2 separate regions of the Homo sapiens genome follow, and region 1 is linked to region 2. Evidence: promoter capture Hi-C in 16 types of primary human blood cells and fetal thymus (Javierre and others, 2016). All regions are on one chromosome and are shown on one strand. The core of a region is centred on a gene start or on the middle of the fragment in contact, and the rest is flanking DNA. Distances in the headings are between cores, read along the strand shown.

Evidence for each region. Contacts are between HindIII fragments. The CHiCAGO score rates a contact against its expected background, and 5 or more counts as called.
Region 1: a fragment that was not itself captured here is called in contact with the fragment with the promoter of GHDC in region 2 in 1 of 17 cell types (endothelial precursors); the score reaches 5.2 in endothelial precursors.

What each region holds. Positions count from the first base shown.
Region 1 is chr17:41,999,537-42,004,376 of GRCh38, reverse strand. It overlaps DNAJC7 (DnaJ heat shock protein family (Hsp40) member C7), which reads left to right. Exons shown (of 14, transcript NM_003315.4): 2 at 3,807-3,895. Among named protein-coding and RNA genes, the nearest start is that of DNAJC7, 15 kb to the left of the region's middle. The HindIII fragment of the contact is 1,869 bases long and covers 2,002-3,870 here.
Region 2 is chr17:42,193,157-42,197,865 of GRCh38, reverse strand. GHDC (GH3 domain containing) reads left to right here and starts at 3,372. Exons shown (of 10, transcript NM_032484.5): 1 at 3,372-3,473; 2 at 4,016-4,099; 3 at 4,272-4,549. The coding sequence starts at 4,285. RefSeq lists enhancers at 3,230-3,459, 4,354-4,709. The HindIII fragment of the contact is 986 bases long and covers 3,134-4,119 here.

The DNA of each region.
Region 1 (4,840 bases), core at 1,687-4,186, 190 kb after region 2:
AAACTTCTAGGACTTAGGAGACCTGTGCAGCCATCTTGGTTGCCTCACTAGCTCTTCCTCTGTTGGAGGATAGGTGAAATTATTGCCATAACCACCTCAGAAGGCCATTTGAAAATCTTGGCCAGGCGTGGTGGCTGACGCCTTTAATCCTACTAGCACTTTGAGAGGTCTAGGCAGGCGGATCATTTGCAGTCAGGAGTTTGAGACCAGTCTGGCCAACATGATGAAACCCCGTCTCTACTAAAAATACAAAAAATAGCTGGGCATGGTGGCACATGCCTGTAATCCCAGCTACTCGGGAGGCTAAGGCGAGAGAACACTTGAACCCAGGAGGCAGAGGCTGCAGTGAACCGAGTTCATGCCACTGCCCTCCAGCCTGGGCAAAAGAGTTAGACTCCATCTAAAAAAAAAAAAAAAAAAAAAAAATTGAAAATCTTCATTGGAAATGCTTCGAAAATCTGAAATAACACTAGAAATATATTGTAGTTGTTAATAGTACCATCAGGTCAGTTATGGCCAAGTCTATATTTTGCTGTGGTATTATATTTAAGAGTTTAATCTGAATTTAATTTTGTAGCCACAGAAAATAATCTGTAGTTTAATTTAGTGCATTGGGAATCCTTTTTTTTTTTAATTGGTCTAGGTGAAGCCAATTAATCCTAAGTCTTCTTTTCTCAGTACTGGTGTGTTTCAGTAGGTGCATGTTACAACCTCACTTGGCTATCAGATGAATTGACCCTGGCAGTGAGTGAGTGACAGATGCCACCACCAGATTGCCTTCAATTCCAGTGTTAACCAGCTCTTCTCCTTTTTTTCCAGTCCCACGCCTTTGACATCTCATCCTTCAGTCCCTTTGCTGTAAAGGCAACTTGAACAAGCTTCAGCCCTTTCTCAGACTTCCAGGGCAGGACTTGAATGGATTTGACACTGGAATTGTTCCTGATGCAGCCTTGTTCAGTTCTTGCTGCTGCCATGCTGGATTCCAAAGATCCACTCTTTCCTCGACTGGTCTCGCAGGGTCAGGCCCACTGGTTAAAGCTTGTTGTGTATTTGGTGGGGAGGTTCAAAATGAAGGAGGGACTCCAGTCCACTTTGGGCATTGGACCTGAAGGCAAAAAATAAGCGTTCAGTCTAAAAGCACTAAGTGCCCATTGTTTAGGCAGCTGTTAATCAGCCACGTTTCTATGAAAATAAGTCCTTTTCATGAGGCAGTTGTGTGGGAATAGCTAATTCTGGCCTGATGCTGTGCAGTGTGAGGTTAAAAACATGGCAACTTGTCACAACACAATTCTTCTTGTTCTTTTTGCTGTGGGCTGACTCTACATTACTTGCTTTGTTTGCTCTAGAATGGAATCTACTCACCATTTACTAAAATGAAATGCATTTCTTTGGGGAGGCAAAGTCCAGTTCACTAGGTCTTGCATCTTAAAGAGAAAGGAGCCCTGCTTCCTCTATGACTAATTGTTAGGAATGTCATTTAGCTTATTTAAATACCGATTTTGGTTCTGGGGTTGAATATTACATGTGGGGTGTACTGTGTGTCTTAGTTTAAACAAATTTATATGTATTGTCCATGTCTTACATATATTGTCCATGTCTTACTCCTCGTAGTACAGACTAATTTTCAAAATAGTTAGCAGTAAGCGGAGGCAAGCATTAGAGAGAAAGCTTGGCATAGTAGAAAGTGCACAAGCTTTGTATTCTGACAAACATGGGTAACATCCTGACCTCAGGCAAGTTATTTAACCCCCAGGCCTTATTTCCTCTTTTGAAAAATGGGAATAATGAAGTTCACCGGACTGTGTTTTATAGAGGATACTGTATGGAAAGTACCTGGCCTCAGTAGTTATTAGTAACTGTCCACCAAAATCATCCTTTGCATTTTTTCTAGAAGCCAGTCCTGAACTCCCCGACCTCCATAGGGGTAGTGTCTTAGGAAGGAGGAGACTAGGGGCACCTTTCAGCAGCCCTGTACATTATTTCACTTTCGACTAACAAGCTTTATACTGCTGACACAGTGTCTCCCCAGGTACCTAGATGTCTTCGTTTTCCTCAAAGATTTGTATATTCTTAGCCACTAGCCAACTGAAGAAGAGGCTAGATCTTCTCTGATGGAGTTTGGGCCTAATGTCTTACTTTGGAATTTGCTACTCCATTTCTTCACAGCAGTTTGACTAATCGAAATCCAGTTTTGGGGAAGTCCTTTGTTCAAATCCCTTGGCATGTCTGCTCTTAAAGGATAGGCTCCTGAGAGTTTTTATAAGCACTTTGCTTAATTTAGAGTTACAGGATGGTGAATACCATGTAGCAAGATTTCAGTTGGTTCTTTAAATCTTGCAATTGGGGGATCTTTCTTGAAGATTTTTCATAGCAGAAGGCCTCTTTTCAGCATTGTGATAGTTGGTATAGACAGTTACTCAAGCAGATTTATATCCATCACATTTCACAGCTGTCAGCATTTATAGGTCATTCCCATTTGCCTTCTCCTTCTAGCAGCCTTTTCATATTAGTAGGGCTTGCCAGGACAGTGATGGAGAAGAATGGAGAGGGAGGATCACCTCAATAAAAGGAGGGCGACTTTACCAGTTTGTAGTTTAAAATACTTAAGTAAATCACAAATCTCCCTAATGCAGATATCCGTAGACTCAAGCTGTAAATTGCTGTACCATCACCAAGGTTTAAGAACTAGGACTTTTGCCTCAACTTCAGGCAACCCCGAACTAGGTTCTTTTTTGCATGTGAACAACAGGAAAAGAAAGATGTTTCTCATAACAAAAATGATCAGGTACTTAGTTAATGTTGCAGTAATCATTTCAGTAAAGAATTATCTTTATCACTTGAGCAGTGGAATGATTTTGAGTATCTTGATAGAGGTTACTAGTTCTTTTAAAACACTGTTGGTCATGTCTGATTTGATTCTAGGTACTTGCTCGGGAATCTAATTCCCAATTATATAACATTGTTCCTTTAGGACAAAGTTTAGGAAAGTATACTTTGTCTAATGGCACAGTTTCAAAAAATAGATCTTAGAGGTAGGGAAAAAATACTGCTATCACCCAGTTGCTGAATATATAAGGTACTGGAGGGAGTACAAAGAGGGCAGCAAGTACCTACATTGTTGTGATGGGAAGAGGGAACACCAGTGGATGGGTGCTCCTTATAGTATGGCACTGGCATCCTGTACCTCATATGTCCCTGTCATCCACGGTCTTAGTCTCTGCTGTCACTCAGCTCTGTTCCTGTCTTAAACACCAACATGCTATGCTTTTAACTCTTTTGCCACCTGCCTTTGCTCTGCTTGTTCTTCCAGTGACAAATGCATGAGCCACTTTTCAGGAGGTGAAATTATTAAAACTCTTGAGGATGTGACCTATTTCACATTGAGAAATAAGTTGCCCTGAATGGAGTAACCATTTTTCCTGTAAGTTTGCAAAAGAGGCAGCAGTTGTGACACTGTGGAAGGAGATAGAAAAATTCCTTGCCATGAGGGAATGTCTAAATTTGTCCTGCGGGGAGGATGACTACAGGCAGAAATAGTGAGGTGAGGCAGGAACATAAGAGGGGTTTTCTTGATTTAGTTTGAATGTATCTAAGTGACAAAAAGGAGCATCTGAAGAACTTGGATTCTTTCATTAGCACCTCCTTTTGGTCCATTGGCCTATTCAACAAATCTATAAATCCTTCAAGTATCACACTAACTTTCAGCTCAGTGTGCTGCGGGCTCTAGACCAAAGATTCCTCCTGTAAGATTACAGAGGTTATTCCCTTTGTAAAGTAACATGATTCTCTTTCTCTTTCATTTTCAGGGAAGCAGAGACTTTCAAGGAACAAGGAAATGCATACTATGCCAAGAAAGATTACAATGAAGCTTATAATTATTATACAAAAGCCATAGGTGAGAAAGAACTGATACTTACGCTAGAAAACATTTACTTGCCAAATATTATTAAAAGTAGCTGCCAAGTCCTGGTGGCTCACGCCTGTAATCCCAGCACTTTGGGAGGCCAAAGCAGGAGGATCACTTTAGATCAGGGGTTTCAGACCACTCTGGCCAACATGACGAAACCCCGTCTCTACTGAAAATACAAAAATTAGCTGGGCCTGGTGGCGGGCACCTGTAATCCCAGCTACTTGGGAGGCTGAGGCAGGAGAATTGCCTGAACTCGGGAGGTAGAGGTTGCAATGAGCCAAGATTGTGCCACTGCACTCCAACCTGGGCAACAAAGCAAGACTTCATCTCAAAAAGATAAAAAAAATAGGCCAGGCTCAGTGGCTCATGCCTGTAATCCCAGCACTTTGGGAGGCCAAAGCAGGCGGATCACTTTAGATCAGGGGTTTCAGACCACTCTGGCCAACATGACGAAACCCTGTCTCTACTAAAAATACAAAAATTAGCTGGGCCTGGTGGCGGGCACCTGTAATCCCAGCTACTTGGGAGGCTGAGGCAGGAGAATTGCCTGAACTCGGGAGGTAGAAGTTGCAGTGAGCCAAGATTGTGCCACTGCACTCCAACCTGGGCAACAAAGCAAGACTTCATCTCAAAAAGATAAAAAAAATAGGCCAGGCTCAGTGGCTCACGCCTATAATCCCAGCACTTTGGAAGGCCAAGGCAGGCAGATCACCTAAAGTCAGGAGTTTGAGACCGGCCTGGCTAACATGGTGAAACCCTGTCTCTACAAAATACAAAAATTTGCTGGGTGTGGTGGTGCGTGCCTGTAATCCCAGCTACTAGGGAGGCTGAGGCAGGAGAATCGCTTGAACCCAGGAGGTGGAGGTTGCAGTGAGCTGAGATCCTGCCGTTGCACTCCAGCCTGGGGGACGACCAAAGAACTCCATCTCA
Region 2 (4,709 bases), core at 2,123-4,622:
ACATGATGTTGTCACGGATGAACCTTGACAATATCATGCTAGATGAAAGAAGCCAGGCCGGGCACGGTGGCTCATGACTGGGACTCCAGCACTTTGGGAGGCTGAGGCGAGGGATCACTTGAGTGCAGCAGTTCAAGACCAGCTTGGACAACACGGTGAAACCCCATCTCTACAAAAAAATACAAAAATTAGCTGGATGTGGTGGTGCACCCCTGTAGTCCCACCTACTCAGGAGGCTGAGGTGGGAGGATCACTTGAGCTGTGATCATGCTACTGCACTCCAGCCTGGGTGACAGAGCGAGGAAAAAGAAAAGAAGCCAAGTACAAAAGACCGCATATTATATGATGCCATTTATAGGAAATGTCTAGGATAGGCAAATCTATGGAGACAGAAAGTAAATTTGAGGTTGCCTAGAGGCTGGGAAGGAGTTTGGAGGTAATAGTGAAAGGATACAGGGTTTGGGGGTTTTTTTGTTTTGTTTTTTTTTTTGTTTGTTTTTCTTGAGACAGAGTCTCGCTCTGTCACCCAGACTGGAGTGCAGTGGCGCCATCTCGGCTCACTACAACCACTGCCTCCCAGTTTCAAGCGATTCTCCCACCTCAGCCTCCCAAGTAGCTGGGATTATAGGCGCCGGCCACCAGACCCTGCTAATTTTTGTATTTTTAGTAGAGACAGTGTTTTGCCATGTTGGCCAGGCTGGTCTTGAACTCCTGACTTCAGGTGATCCACCTGCCTTGGCCTCCCAAAGTGCTGGGATTATAGGTGTGAGCCACCACGCCCAGCCTGAGTTTGGGGTTTTTTATTTTATTTTATTTTATTTTATTTTATTTTATTTTATTTTATTTTATTTAACGAATTGGGCAGTCTCCTGAGGCACAGTAGGCTCAGAGAGACTCTGCAGGGTTTGTTTTTGAGGTAAGGAAAATGTTATTATCTGTGGTGTTGGTTGCACATATCTCTGGATATACTAGATCTTGAATTGTACACTAAATGGGTGATTTGTATGGTGTGTGAATTATATCTAATAAAGCTGTTACTGGGCCAGGTCTAGTGGCTTACACCTGTAATTCCAGCACTTTGGAAGGCCAAGGTAGGAGGATCGCTGAGACCGGGAGTTCCAGACCAGTCTGGGCAACATAGTAAGACCCCCTGTCTCTACAAAAAAAAAAAAAAAATGTTTTTAATTAGCTGGGTGTGGTGGCACATGCCTGTAGTCCTAGCCACTCAGAGGCTGGGGTAGGAGGATTGCTTGATCCCCGGAGTTCAAGGTTGCAATGAGCTGTGACCAGGCCACTGAACTCCAGCCTGGACAACAGAGCAAGACCCTGTCTTTAAATAAATAATAAAAGCAAATGCAAGATCTCAGCGAGAAAAAACGTGAAAGTGAGGTGAGTTAGCCAGAGTGAGAACAGACCTGTTGAAAGAAGCTCAGCTGTGAAGGGAAGAGAGGTGCTCAGCAAGTAGTAGCTCTCTTCTCAAAGGTATCCAGAGGCAAGTAAGGGGAGAAAGGGAGTGGTTTTAGTGTTTTGAGAGCCTAGGTCAAGAACACACCAGCCTGGGCAACATAGGGAGCTCTCTCGTCTCTACAAAAAATAAAATTAGTTGAGCGTAGTGGTGCGTACCTGTAGTTCCAGTCCCTTGGGAGGCTGAGACAGGAGGATCTCTTGAGCCCAGGAGGTTGAGGTTGCAGTGAGCTATGATCGCACCACTGCACTCCAGCCTGGGCAATAGATCAAGACCCTGTCTCAAAAACAAAAAACAAAAAAAGAGAAGTTTGTAATTTTCCTTGGGATAAAGGCAACAGGCTAACACAGATGGTCACCCAGTAACCAGGTAAAGTTAAGATAAACTATATGTGACTGGCTGGGTGCAGTGGCTCAGGCCTGTAATCCCAGCACTTTGGGAGGCCGAGGCAGGTGGATCACTTGAGGTCAGGAGTTTGAGACCAGCCTGGCCAACATGGTGACATGGTGAAACCCCGTCTCTACTAAAAATACAAAAAATTAGCTGGGTGTGGTGATGCGTGCCTGTAATCCCAGCTACTCGGGAGGCTGAGGCAGGAGAATTGCTTGAATCTGGGAGGCGGAGGTTGCAGTGAGCTAAGATCGTGCCATTGCACTCCAGCCTGGGCAACAAGAATAGAACTCTGCCAAAAAAACAAAAAAAAAGAAGTTTGTAATTTTCCTTGGGATAAAGCCAGCAAGCTAACACAGATGTTCACCTAATAACCATGTAAAGTTAAGATAAACTATGTGACTGGCTGGGTGTGGTGGCTCACACCTGTAATCCCAGCACTTTGGGAGGCCAAGGAGGGTAGATCACTTGAGGTCAAGAGTTTGAGACCAGCCTGGCCAACATGGTGAAACCCCATCTCTACTGAAAATACAAAAATTAGCTGGGCGTGGTGGCACACACCTGTAATCCCAGCTGCTTGGGAGGCTGGGGCAGCAGAATCGCTTGAACCTGGGAAGTGGAGGTTGCAGTGAGCTGAGATTGTGCCACTGCACTCCAGCCTGGGCAACAGAGCAAGACTGTGTCTCAAAAAAAAAAAAAAAAAAAAAAGATAAACTATATGTGACAAGTCCTCTTACTTGAGGACTCGTTATTGTTTATCTTGAAAACGTGTATGTAATGGGTTGTATGCGCTTGGCTATACAAAAAAGTAAGATTTCCTCCCTTCTTTGCAAGCTCTTAGCAGATCACCTGTCATGTACATCACATTGTGGTTGAATGCTTATTCAATAATAAAATTGTTTTCTTTCTCAACTACCTTGAGGGAGAGGATGGGGTTTTTTTTGTTGTTGTTTTTGTTTTGTTTGTTTTTGAGACGGAGTTTCGCTCATTGCCCAGGCTGGAGTACAATGGCGCAATCTCAGCTCACTGCAACCTCCGCCTCCCAAGTTCAAGTGATTCTTCTGCCTCAGCCTCCCAAGTAGCTGGGATTACAGGCATGTGCCACCACATCTGGCTAATTTTGTATTTTTAGTAGAGATGGGGTTTCACCATGTTGGTCAGGCTGGTGTCAAACTCCTGACCTCAGATGATCCACCCGCCTCAGCCTCCCAAAGTGTTGGGAATACAGGCGTGAGCCACCGCGCCCAGCTGAGTTGGGGTTTTAAGAGTTCTTAAGCTTGCCCCTCTCCCAGCTCAAGTGGCTTAATGGCGTTCTTTCCCACACACACCTTTCTGTTCCTTCACCTGCGCAAGTTTGAGGACCATGCTAGTCTGGTCCTAACTGCCCCAACTGCCAGCCTGGGCTAGCACCCGACATGAAGTCCTGTAGGCGACCTGCCCCTTTAAGAGCACCCCCCTCCTTCAGCTCCTCCCTCAGGCCTGGTGGCCGGATTTCCCAGTTGGGGCCCAGCCTTTTAAAGCCATCGCTCCTTCTTTCTGGCCGGATGTGTGCTGAGACCCAGAGTCACCCAGGGGTCTCCGTCACGTGCCAGGAGTAGGCAGAAGTGGGCTGTGACAGGTGCATGTGGGCATGGACCCCACAGCCTGGGGCTCAGGAGGGACAAGGAGCTGGGACAGGGTGGATCCCGAGAGAAAGCAAAGCCACTCGGGAGTGGGCAAGAGATATCGTTACGCAGCTGCTGTGTGCCCGACCGACCCTGTCCGAAACCCTTCCTGTACCTTCCCTTCCTCTTCCTTCTTTTCTCCCTTTTTTTTCTTTTCTTTTTTTTTTTGACAGGGTCTCACTCTGTTGCCCAAGCTGGGGTGCAGTGGCACGATCTTGGCTCACTGTAGCCTTGACATCCTGGGCTCAAGGGATCCTCCCATCTCAGCCTCCCAAGTAGCTGCGACTATGGGTGTGACACCACGCTGGGCTAGTTTTTCAATTTTTTGTAGAGATGGAGTCTCCCTATGTTGCTCAGGCCGGTTGCAAACTCCTGGGCTCAAGTGATTCTCCTGCCTCAGCCTCCCAAAGTGCTGGGATTACAGATGATAGCCACCTCACCCGGCCCACCCCTACCTTCTGAAAGAGGCATTCTTATTCTTATTCCCATTTTGCAGATCAGGAAACAGAGCTCAGTGCAGCCCACTAAATTGCTCAGGGCCCTACAGCTAACAAGCGGCAGAGGCAGGATCTGCACTCAGGTCAGTGGGACTCCAAAGCTTTGATAGTCTCTCCTTTGCATCACCTGCCCCACAGGGTCCTGCCTTCTTCCCAATTTCATTTTTCCTCGGTTTTCCTGTATGCAGTAGAGCGTGGGAGGAGAAATGGATAATTGCTGCATGCCCCCATATCTCGGTTCCTTCCTCTTCCCAGGAGCTGCTTGGAGATGCTGCTGTGGCCACTGCTGCTGCTGCTGCTGCTGCTGCCAACATTGGCCCTGCTCAGGCAGCAGCGGTCCCAGGATGCCAGGCTGTCCTGGCTTGCTGGCCTCCAGCACCGAGTGGCATGGGGGGCCCTGGTCTGGGCAGCCACCTGGCAGCGGCGGAGGCTGGAGCAGAGCACGCTCCATGTGCACCAGAGCCAGCAGCAGGCCCTGAGGTGGTGTCTACAGGGAGCCCAGCGCCCCCACTGTTCCCTCAGAAGGAGCACAGGTGTGTTTCCCAGGGTCTGGGGAGGTGACCCAAAGAGAAAGAAACCCCACAGGACCGTCAGATTCCAGAGCCTGATGGCCCCCTTACCTCCTCCACTGCCAACGGAGTGGCCTGACCCAGAGACCCAGGACTGGCTTTCTTGTCCAAGATGAATTTCCCA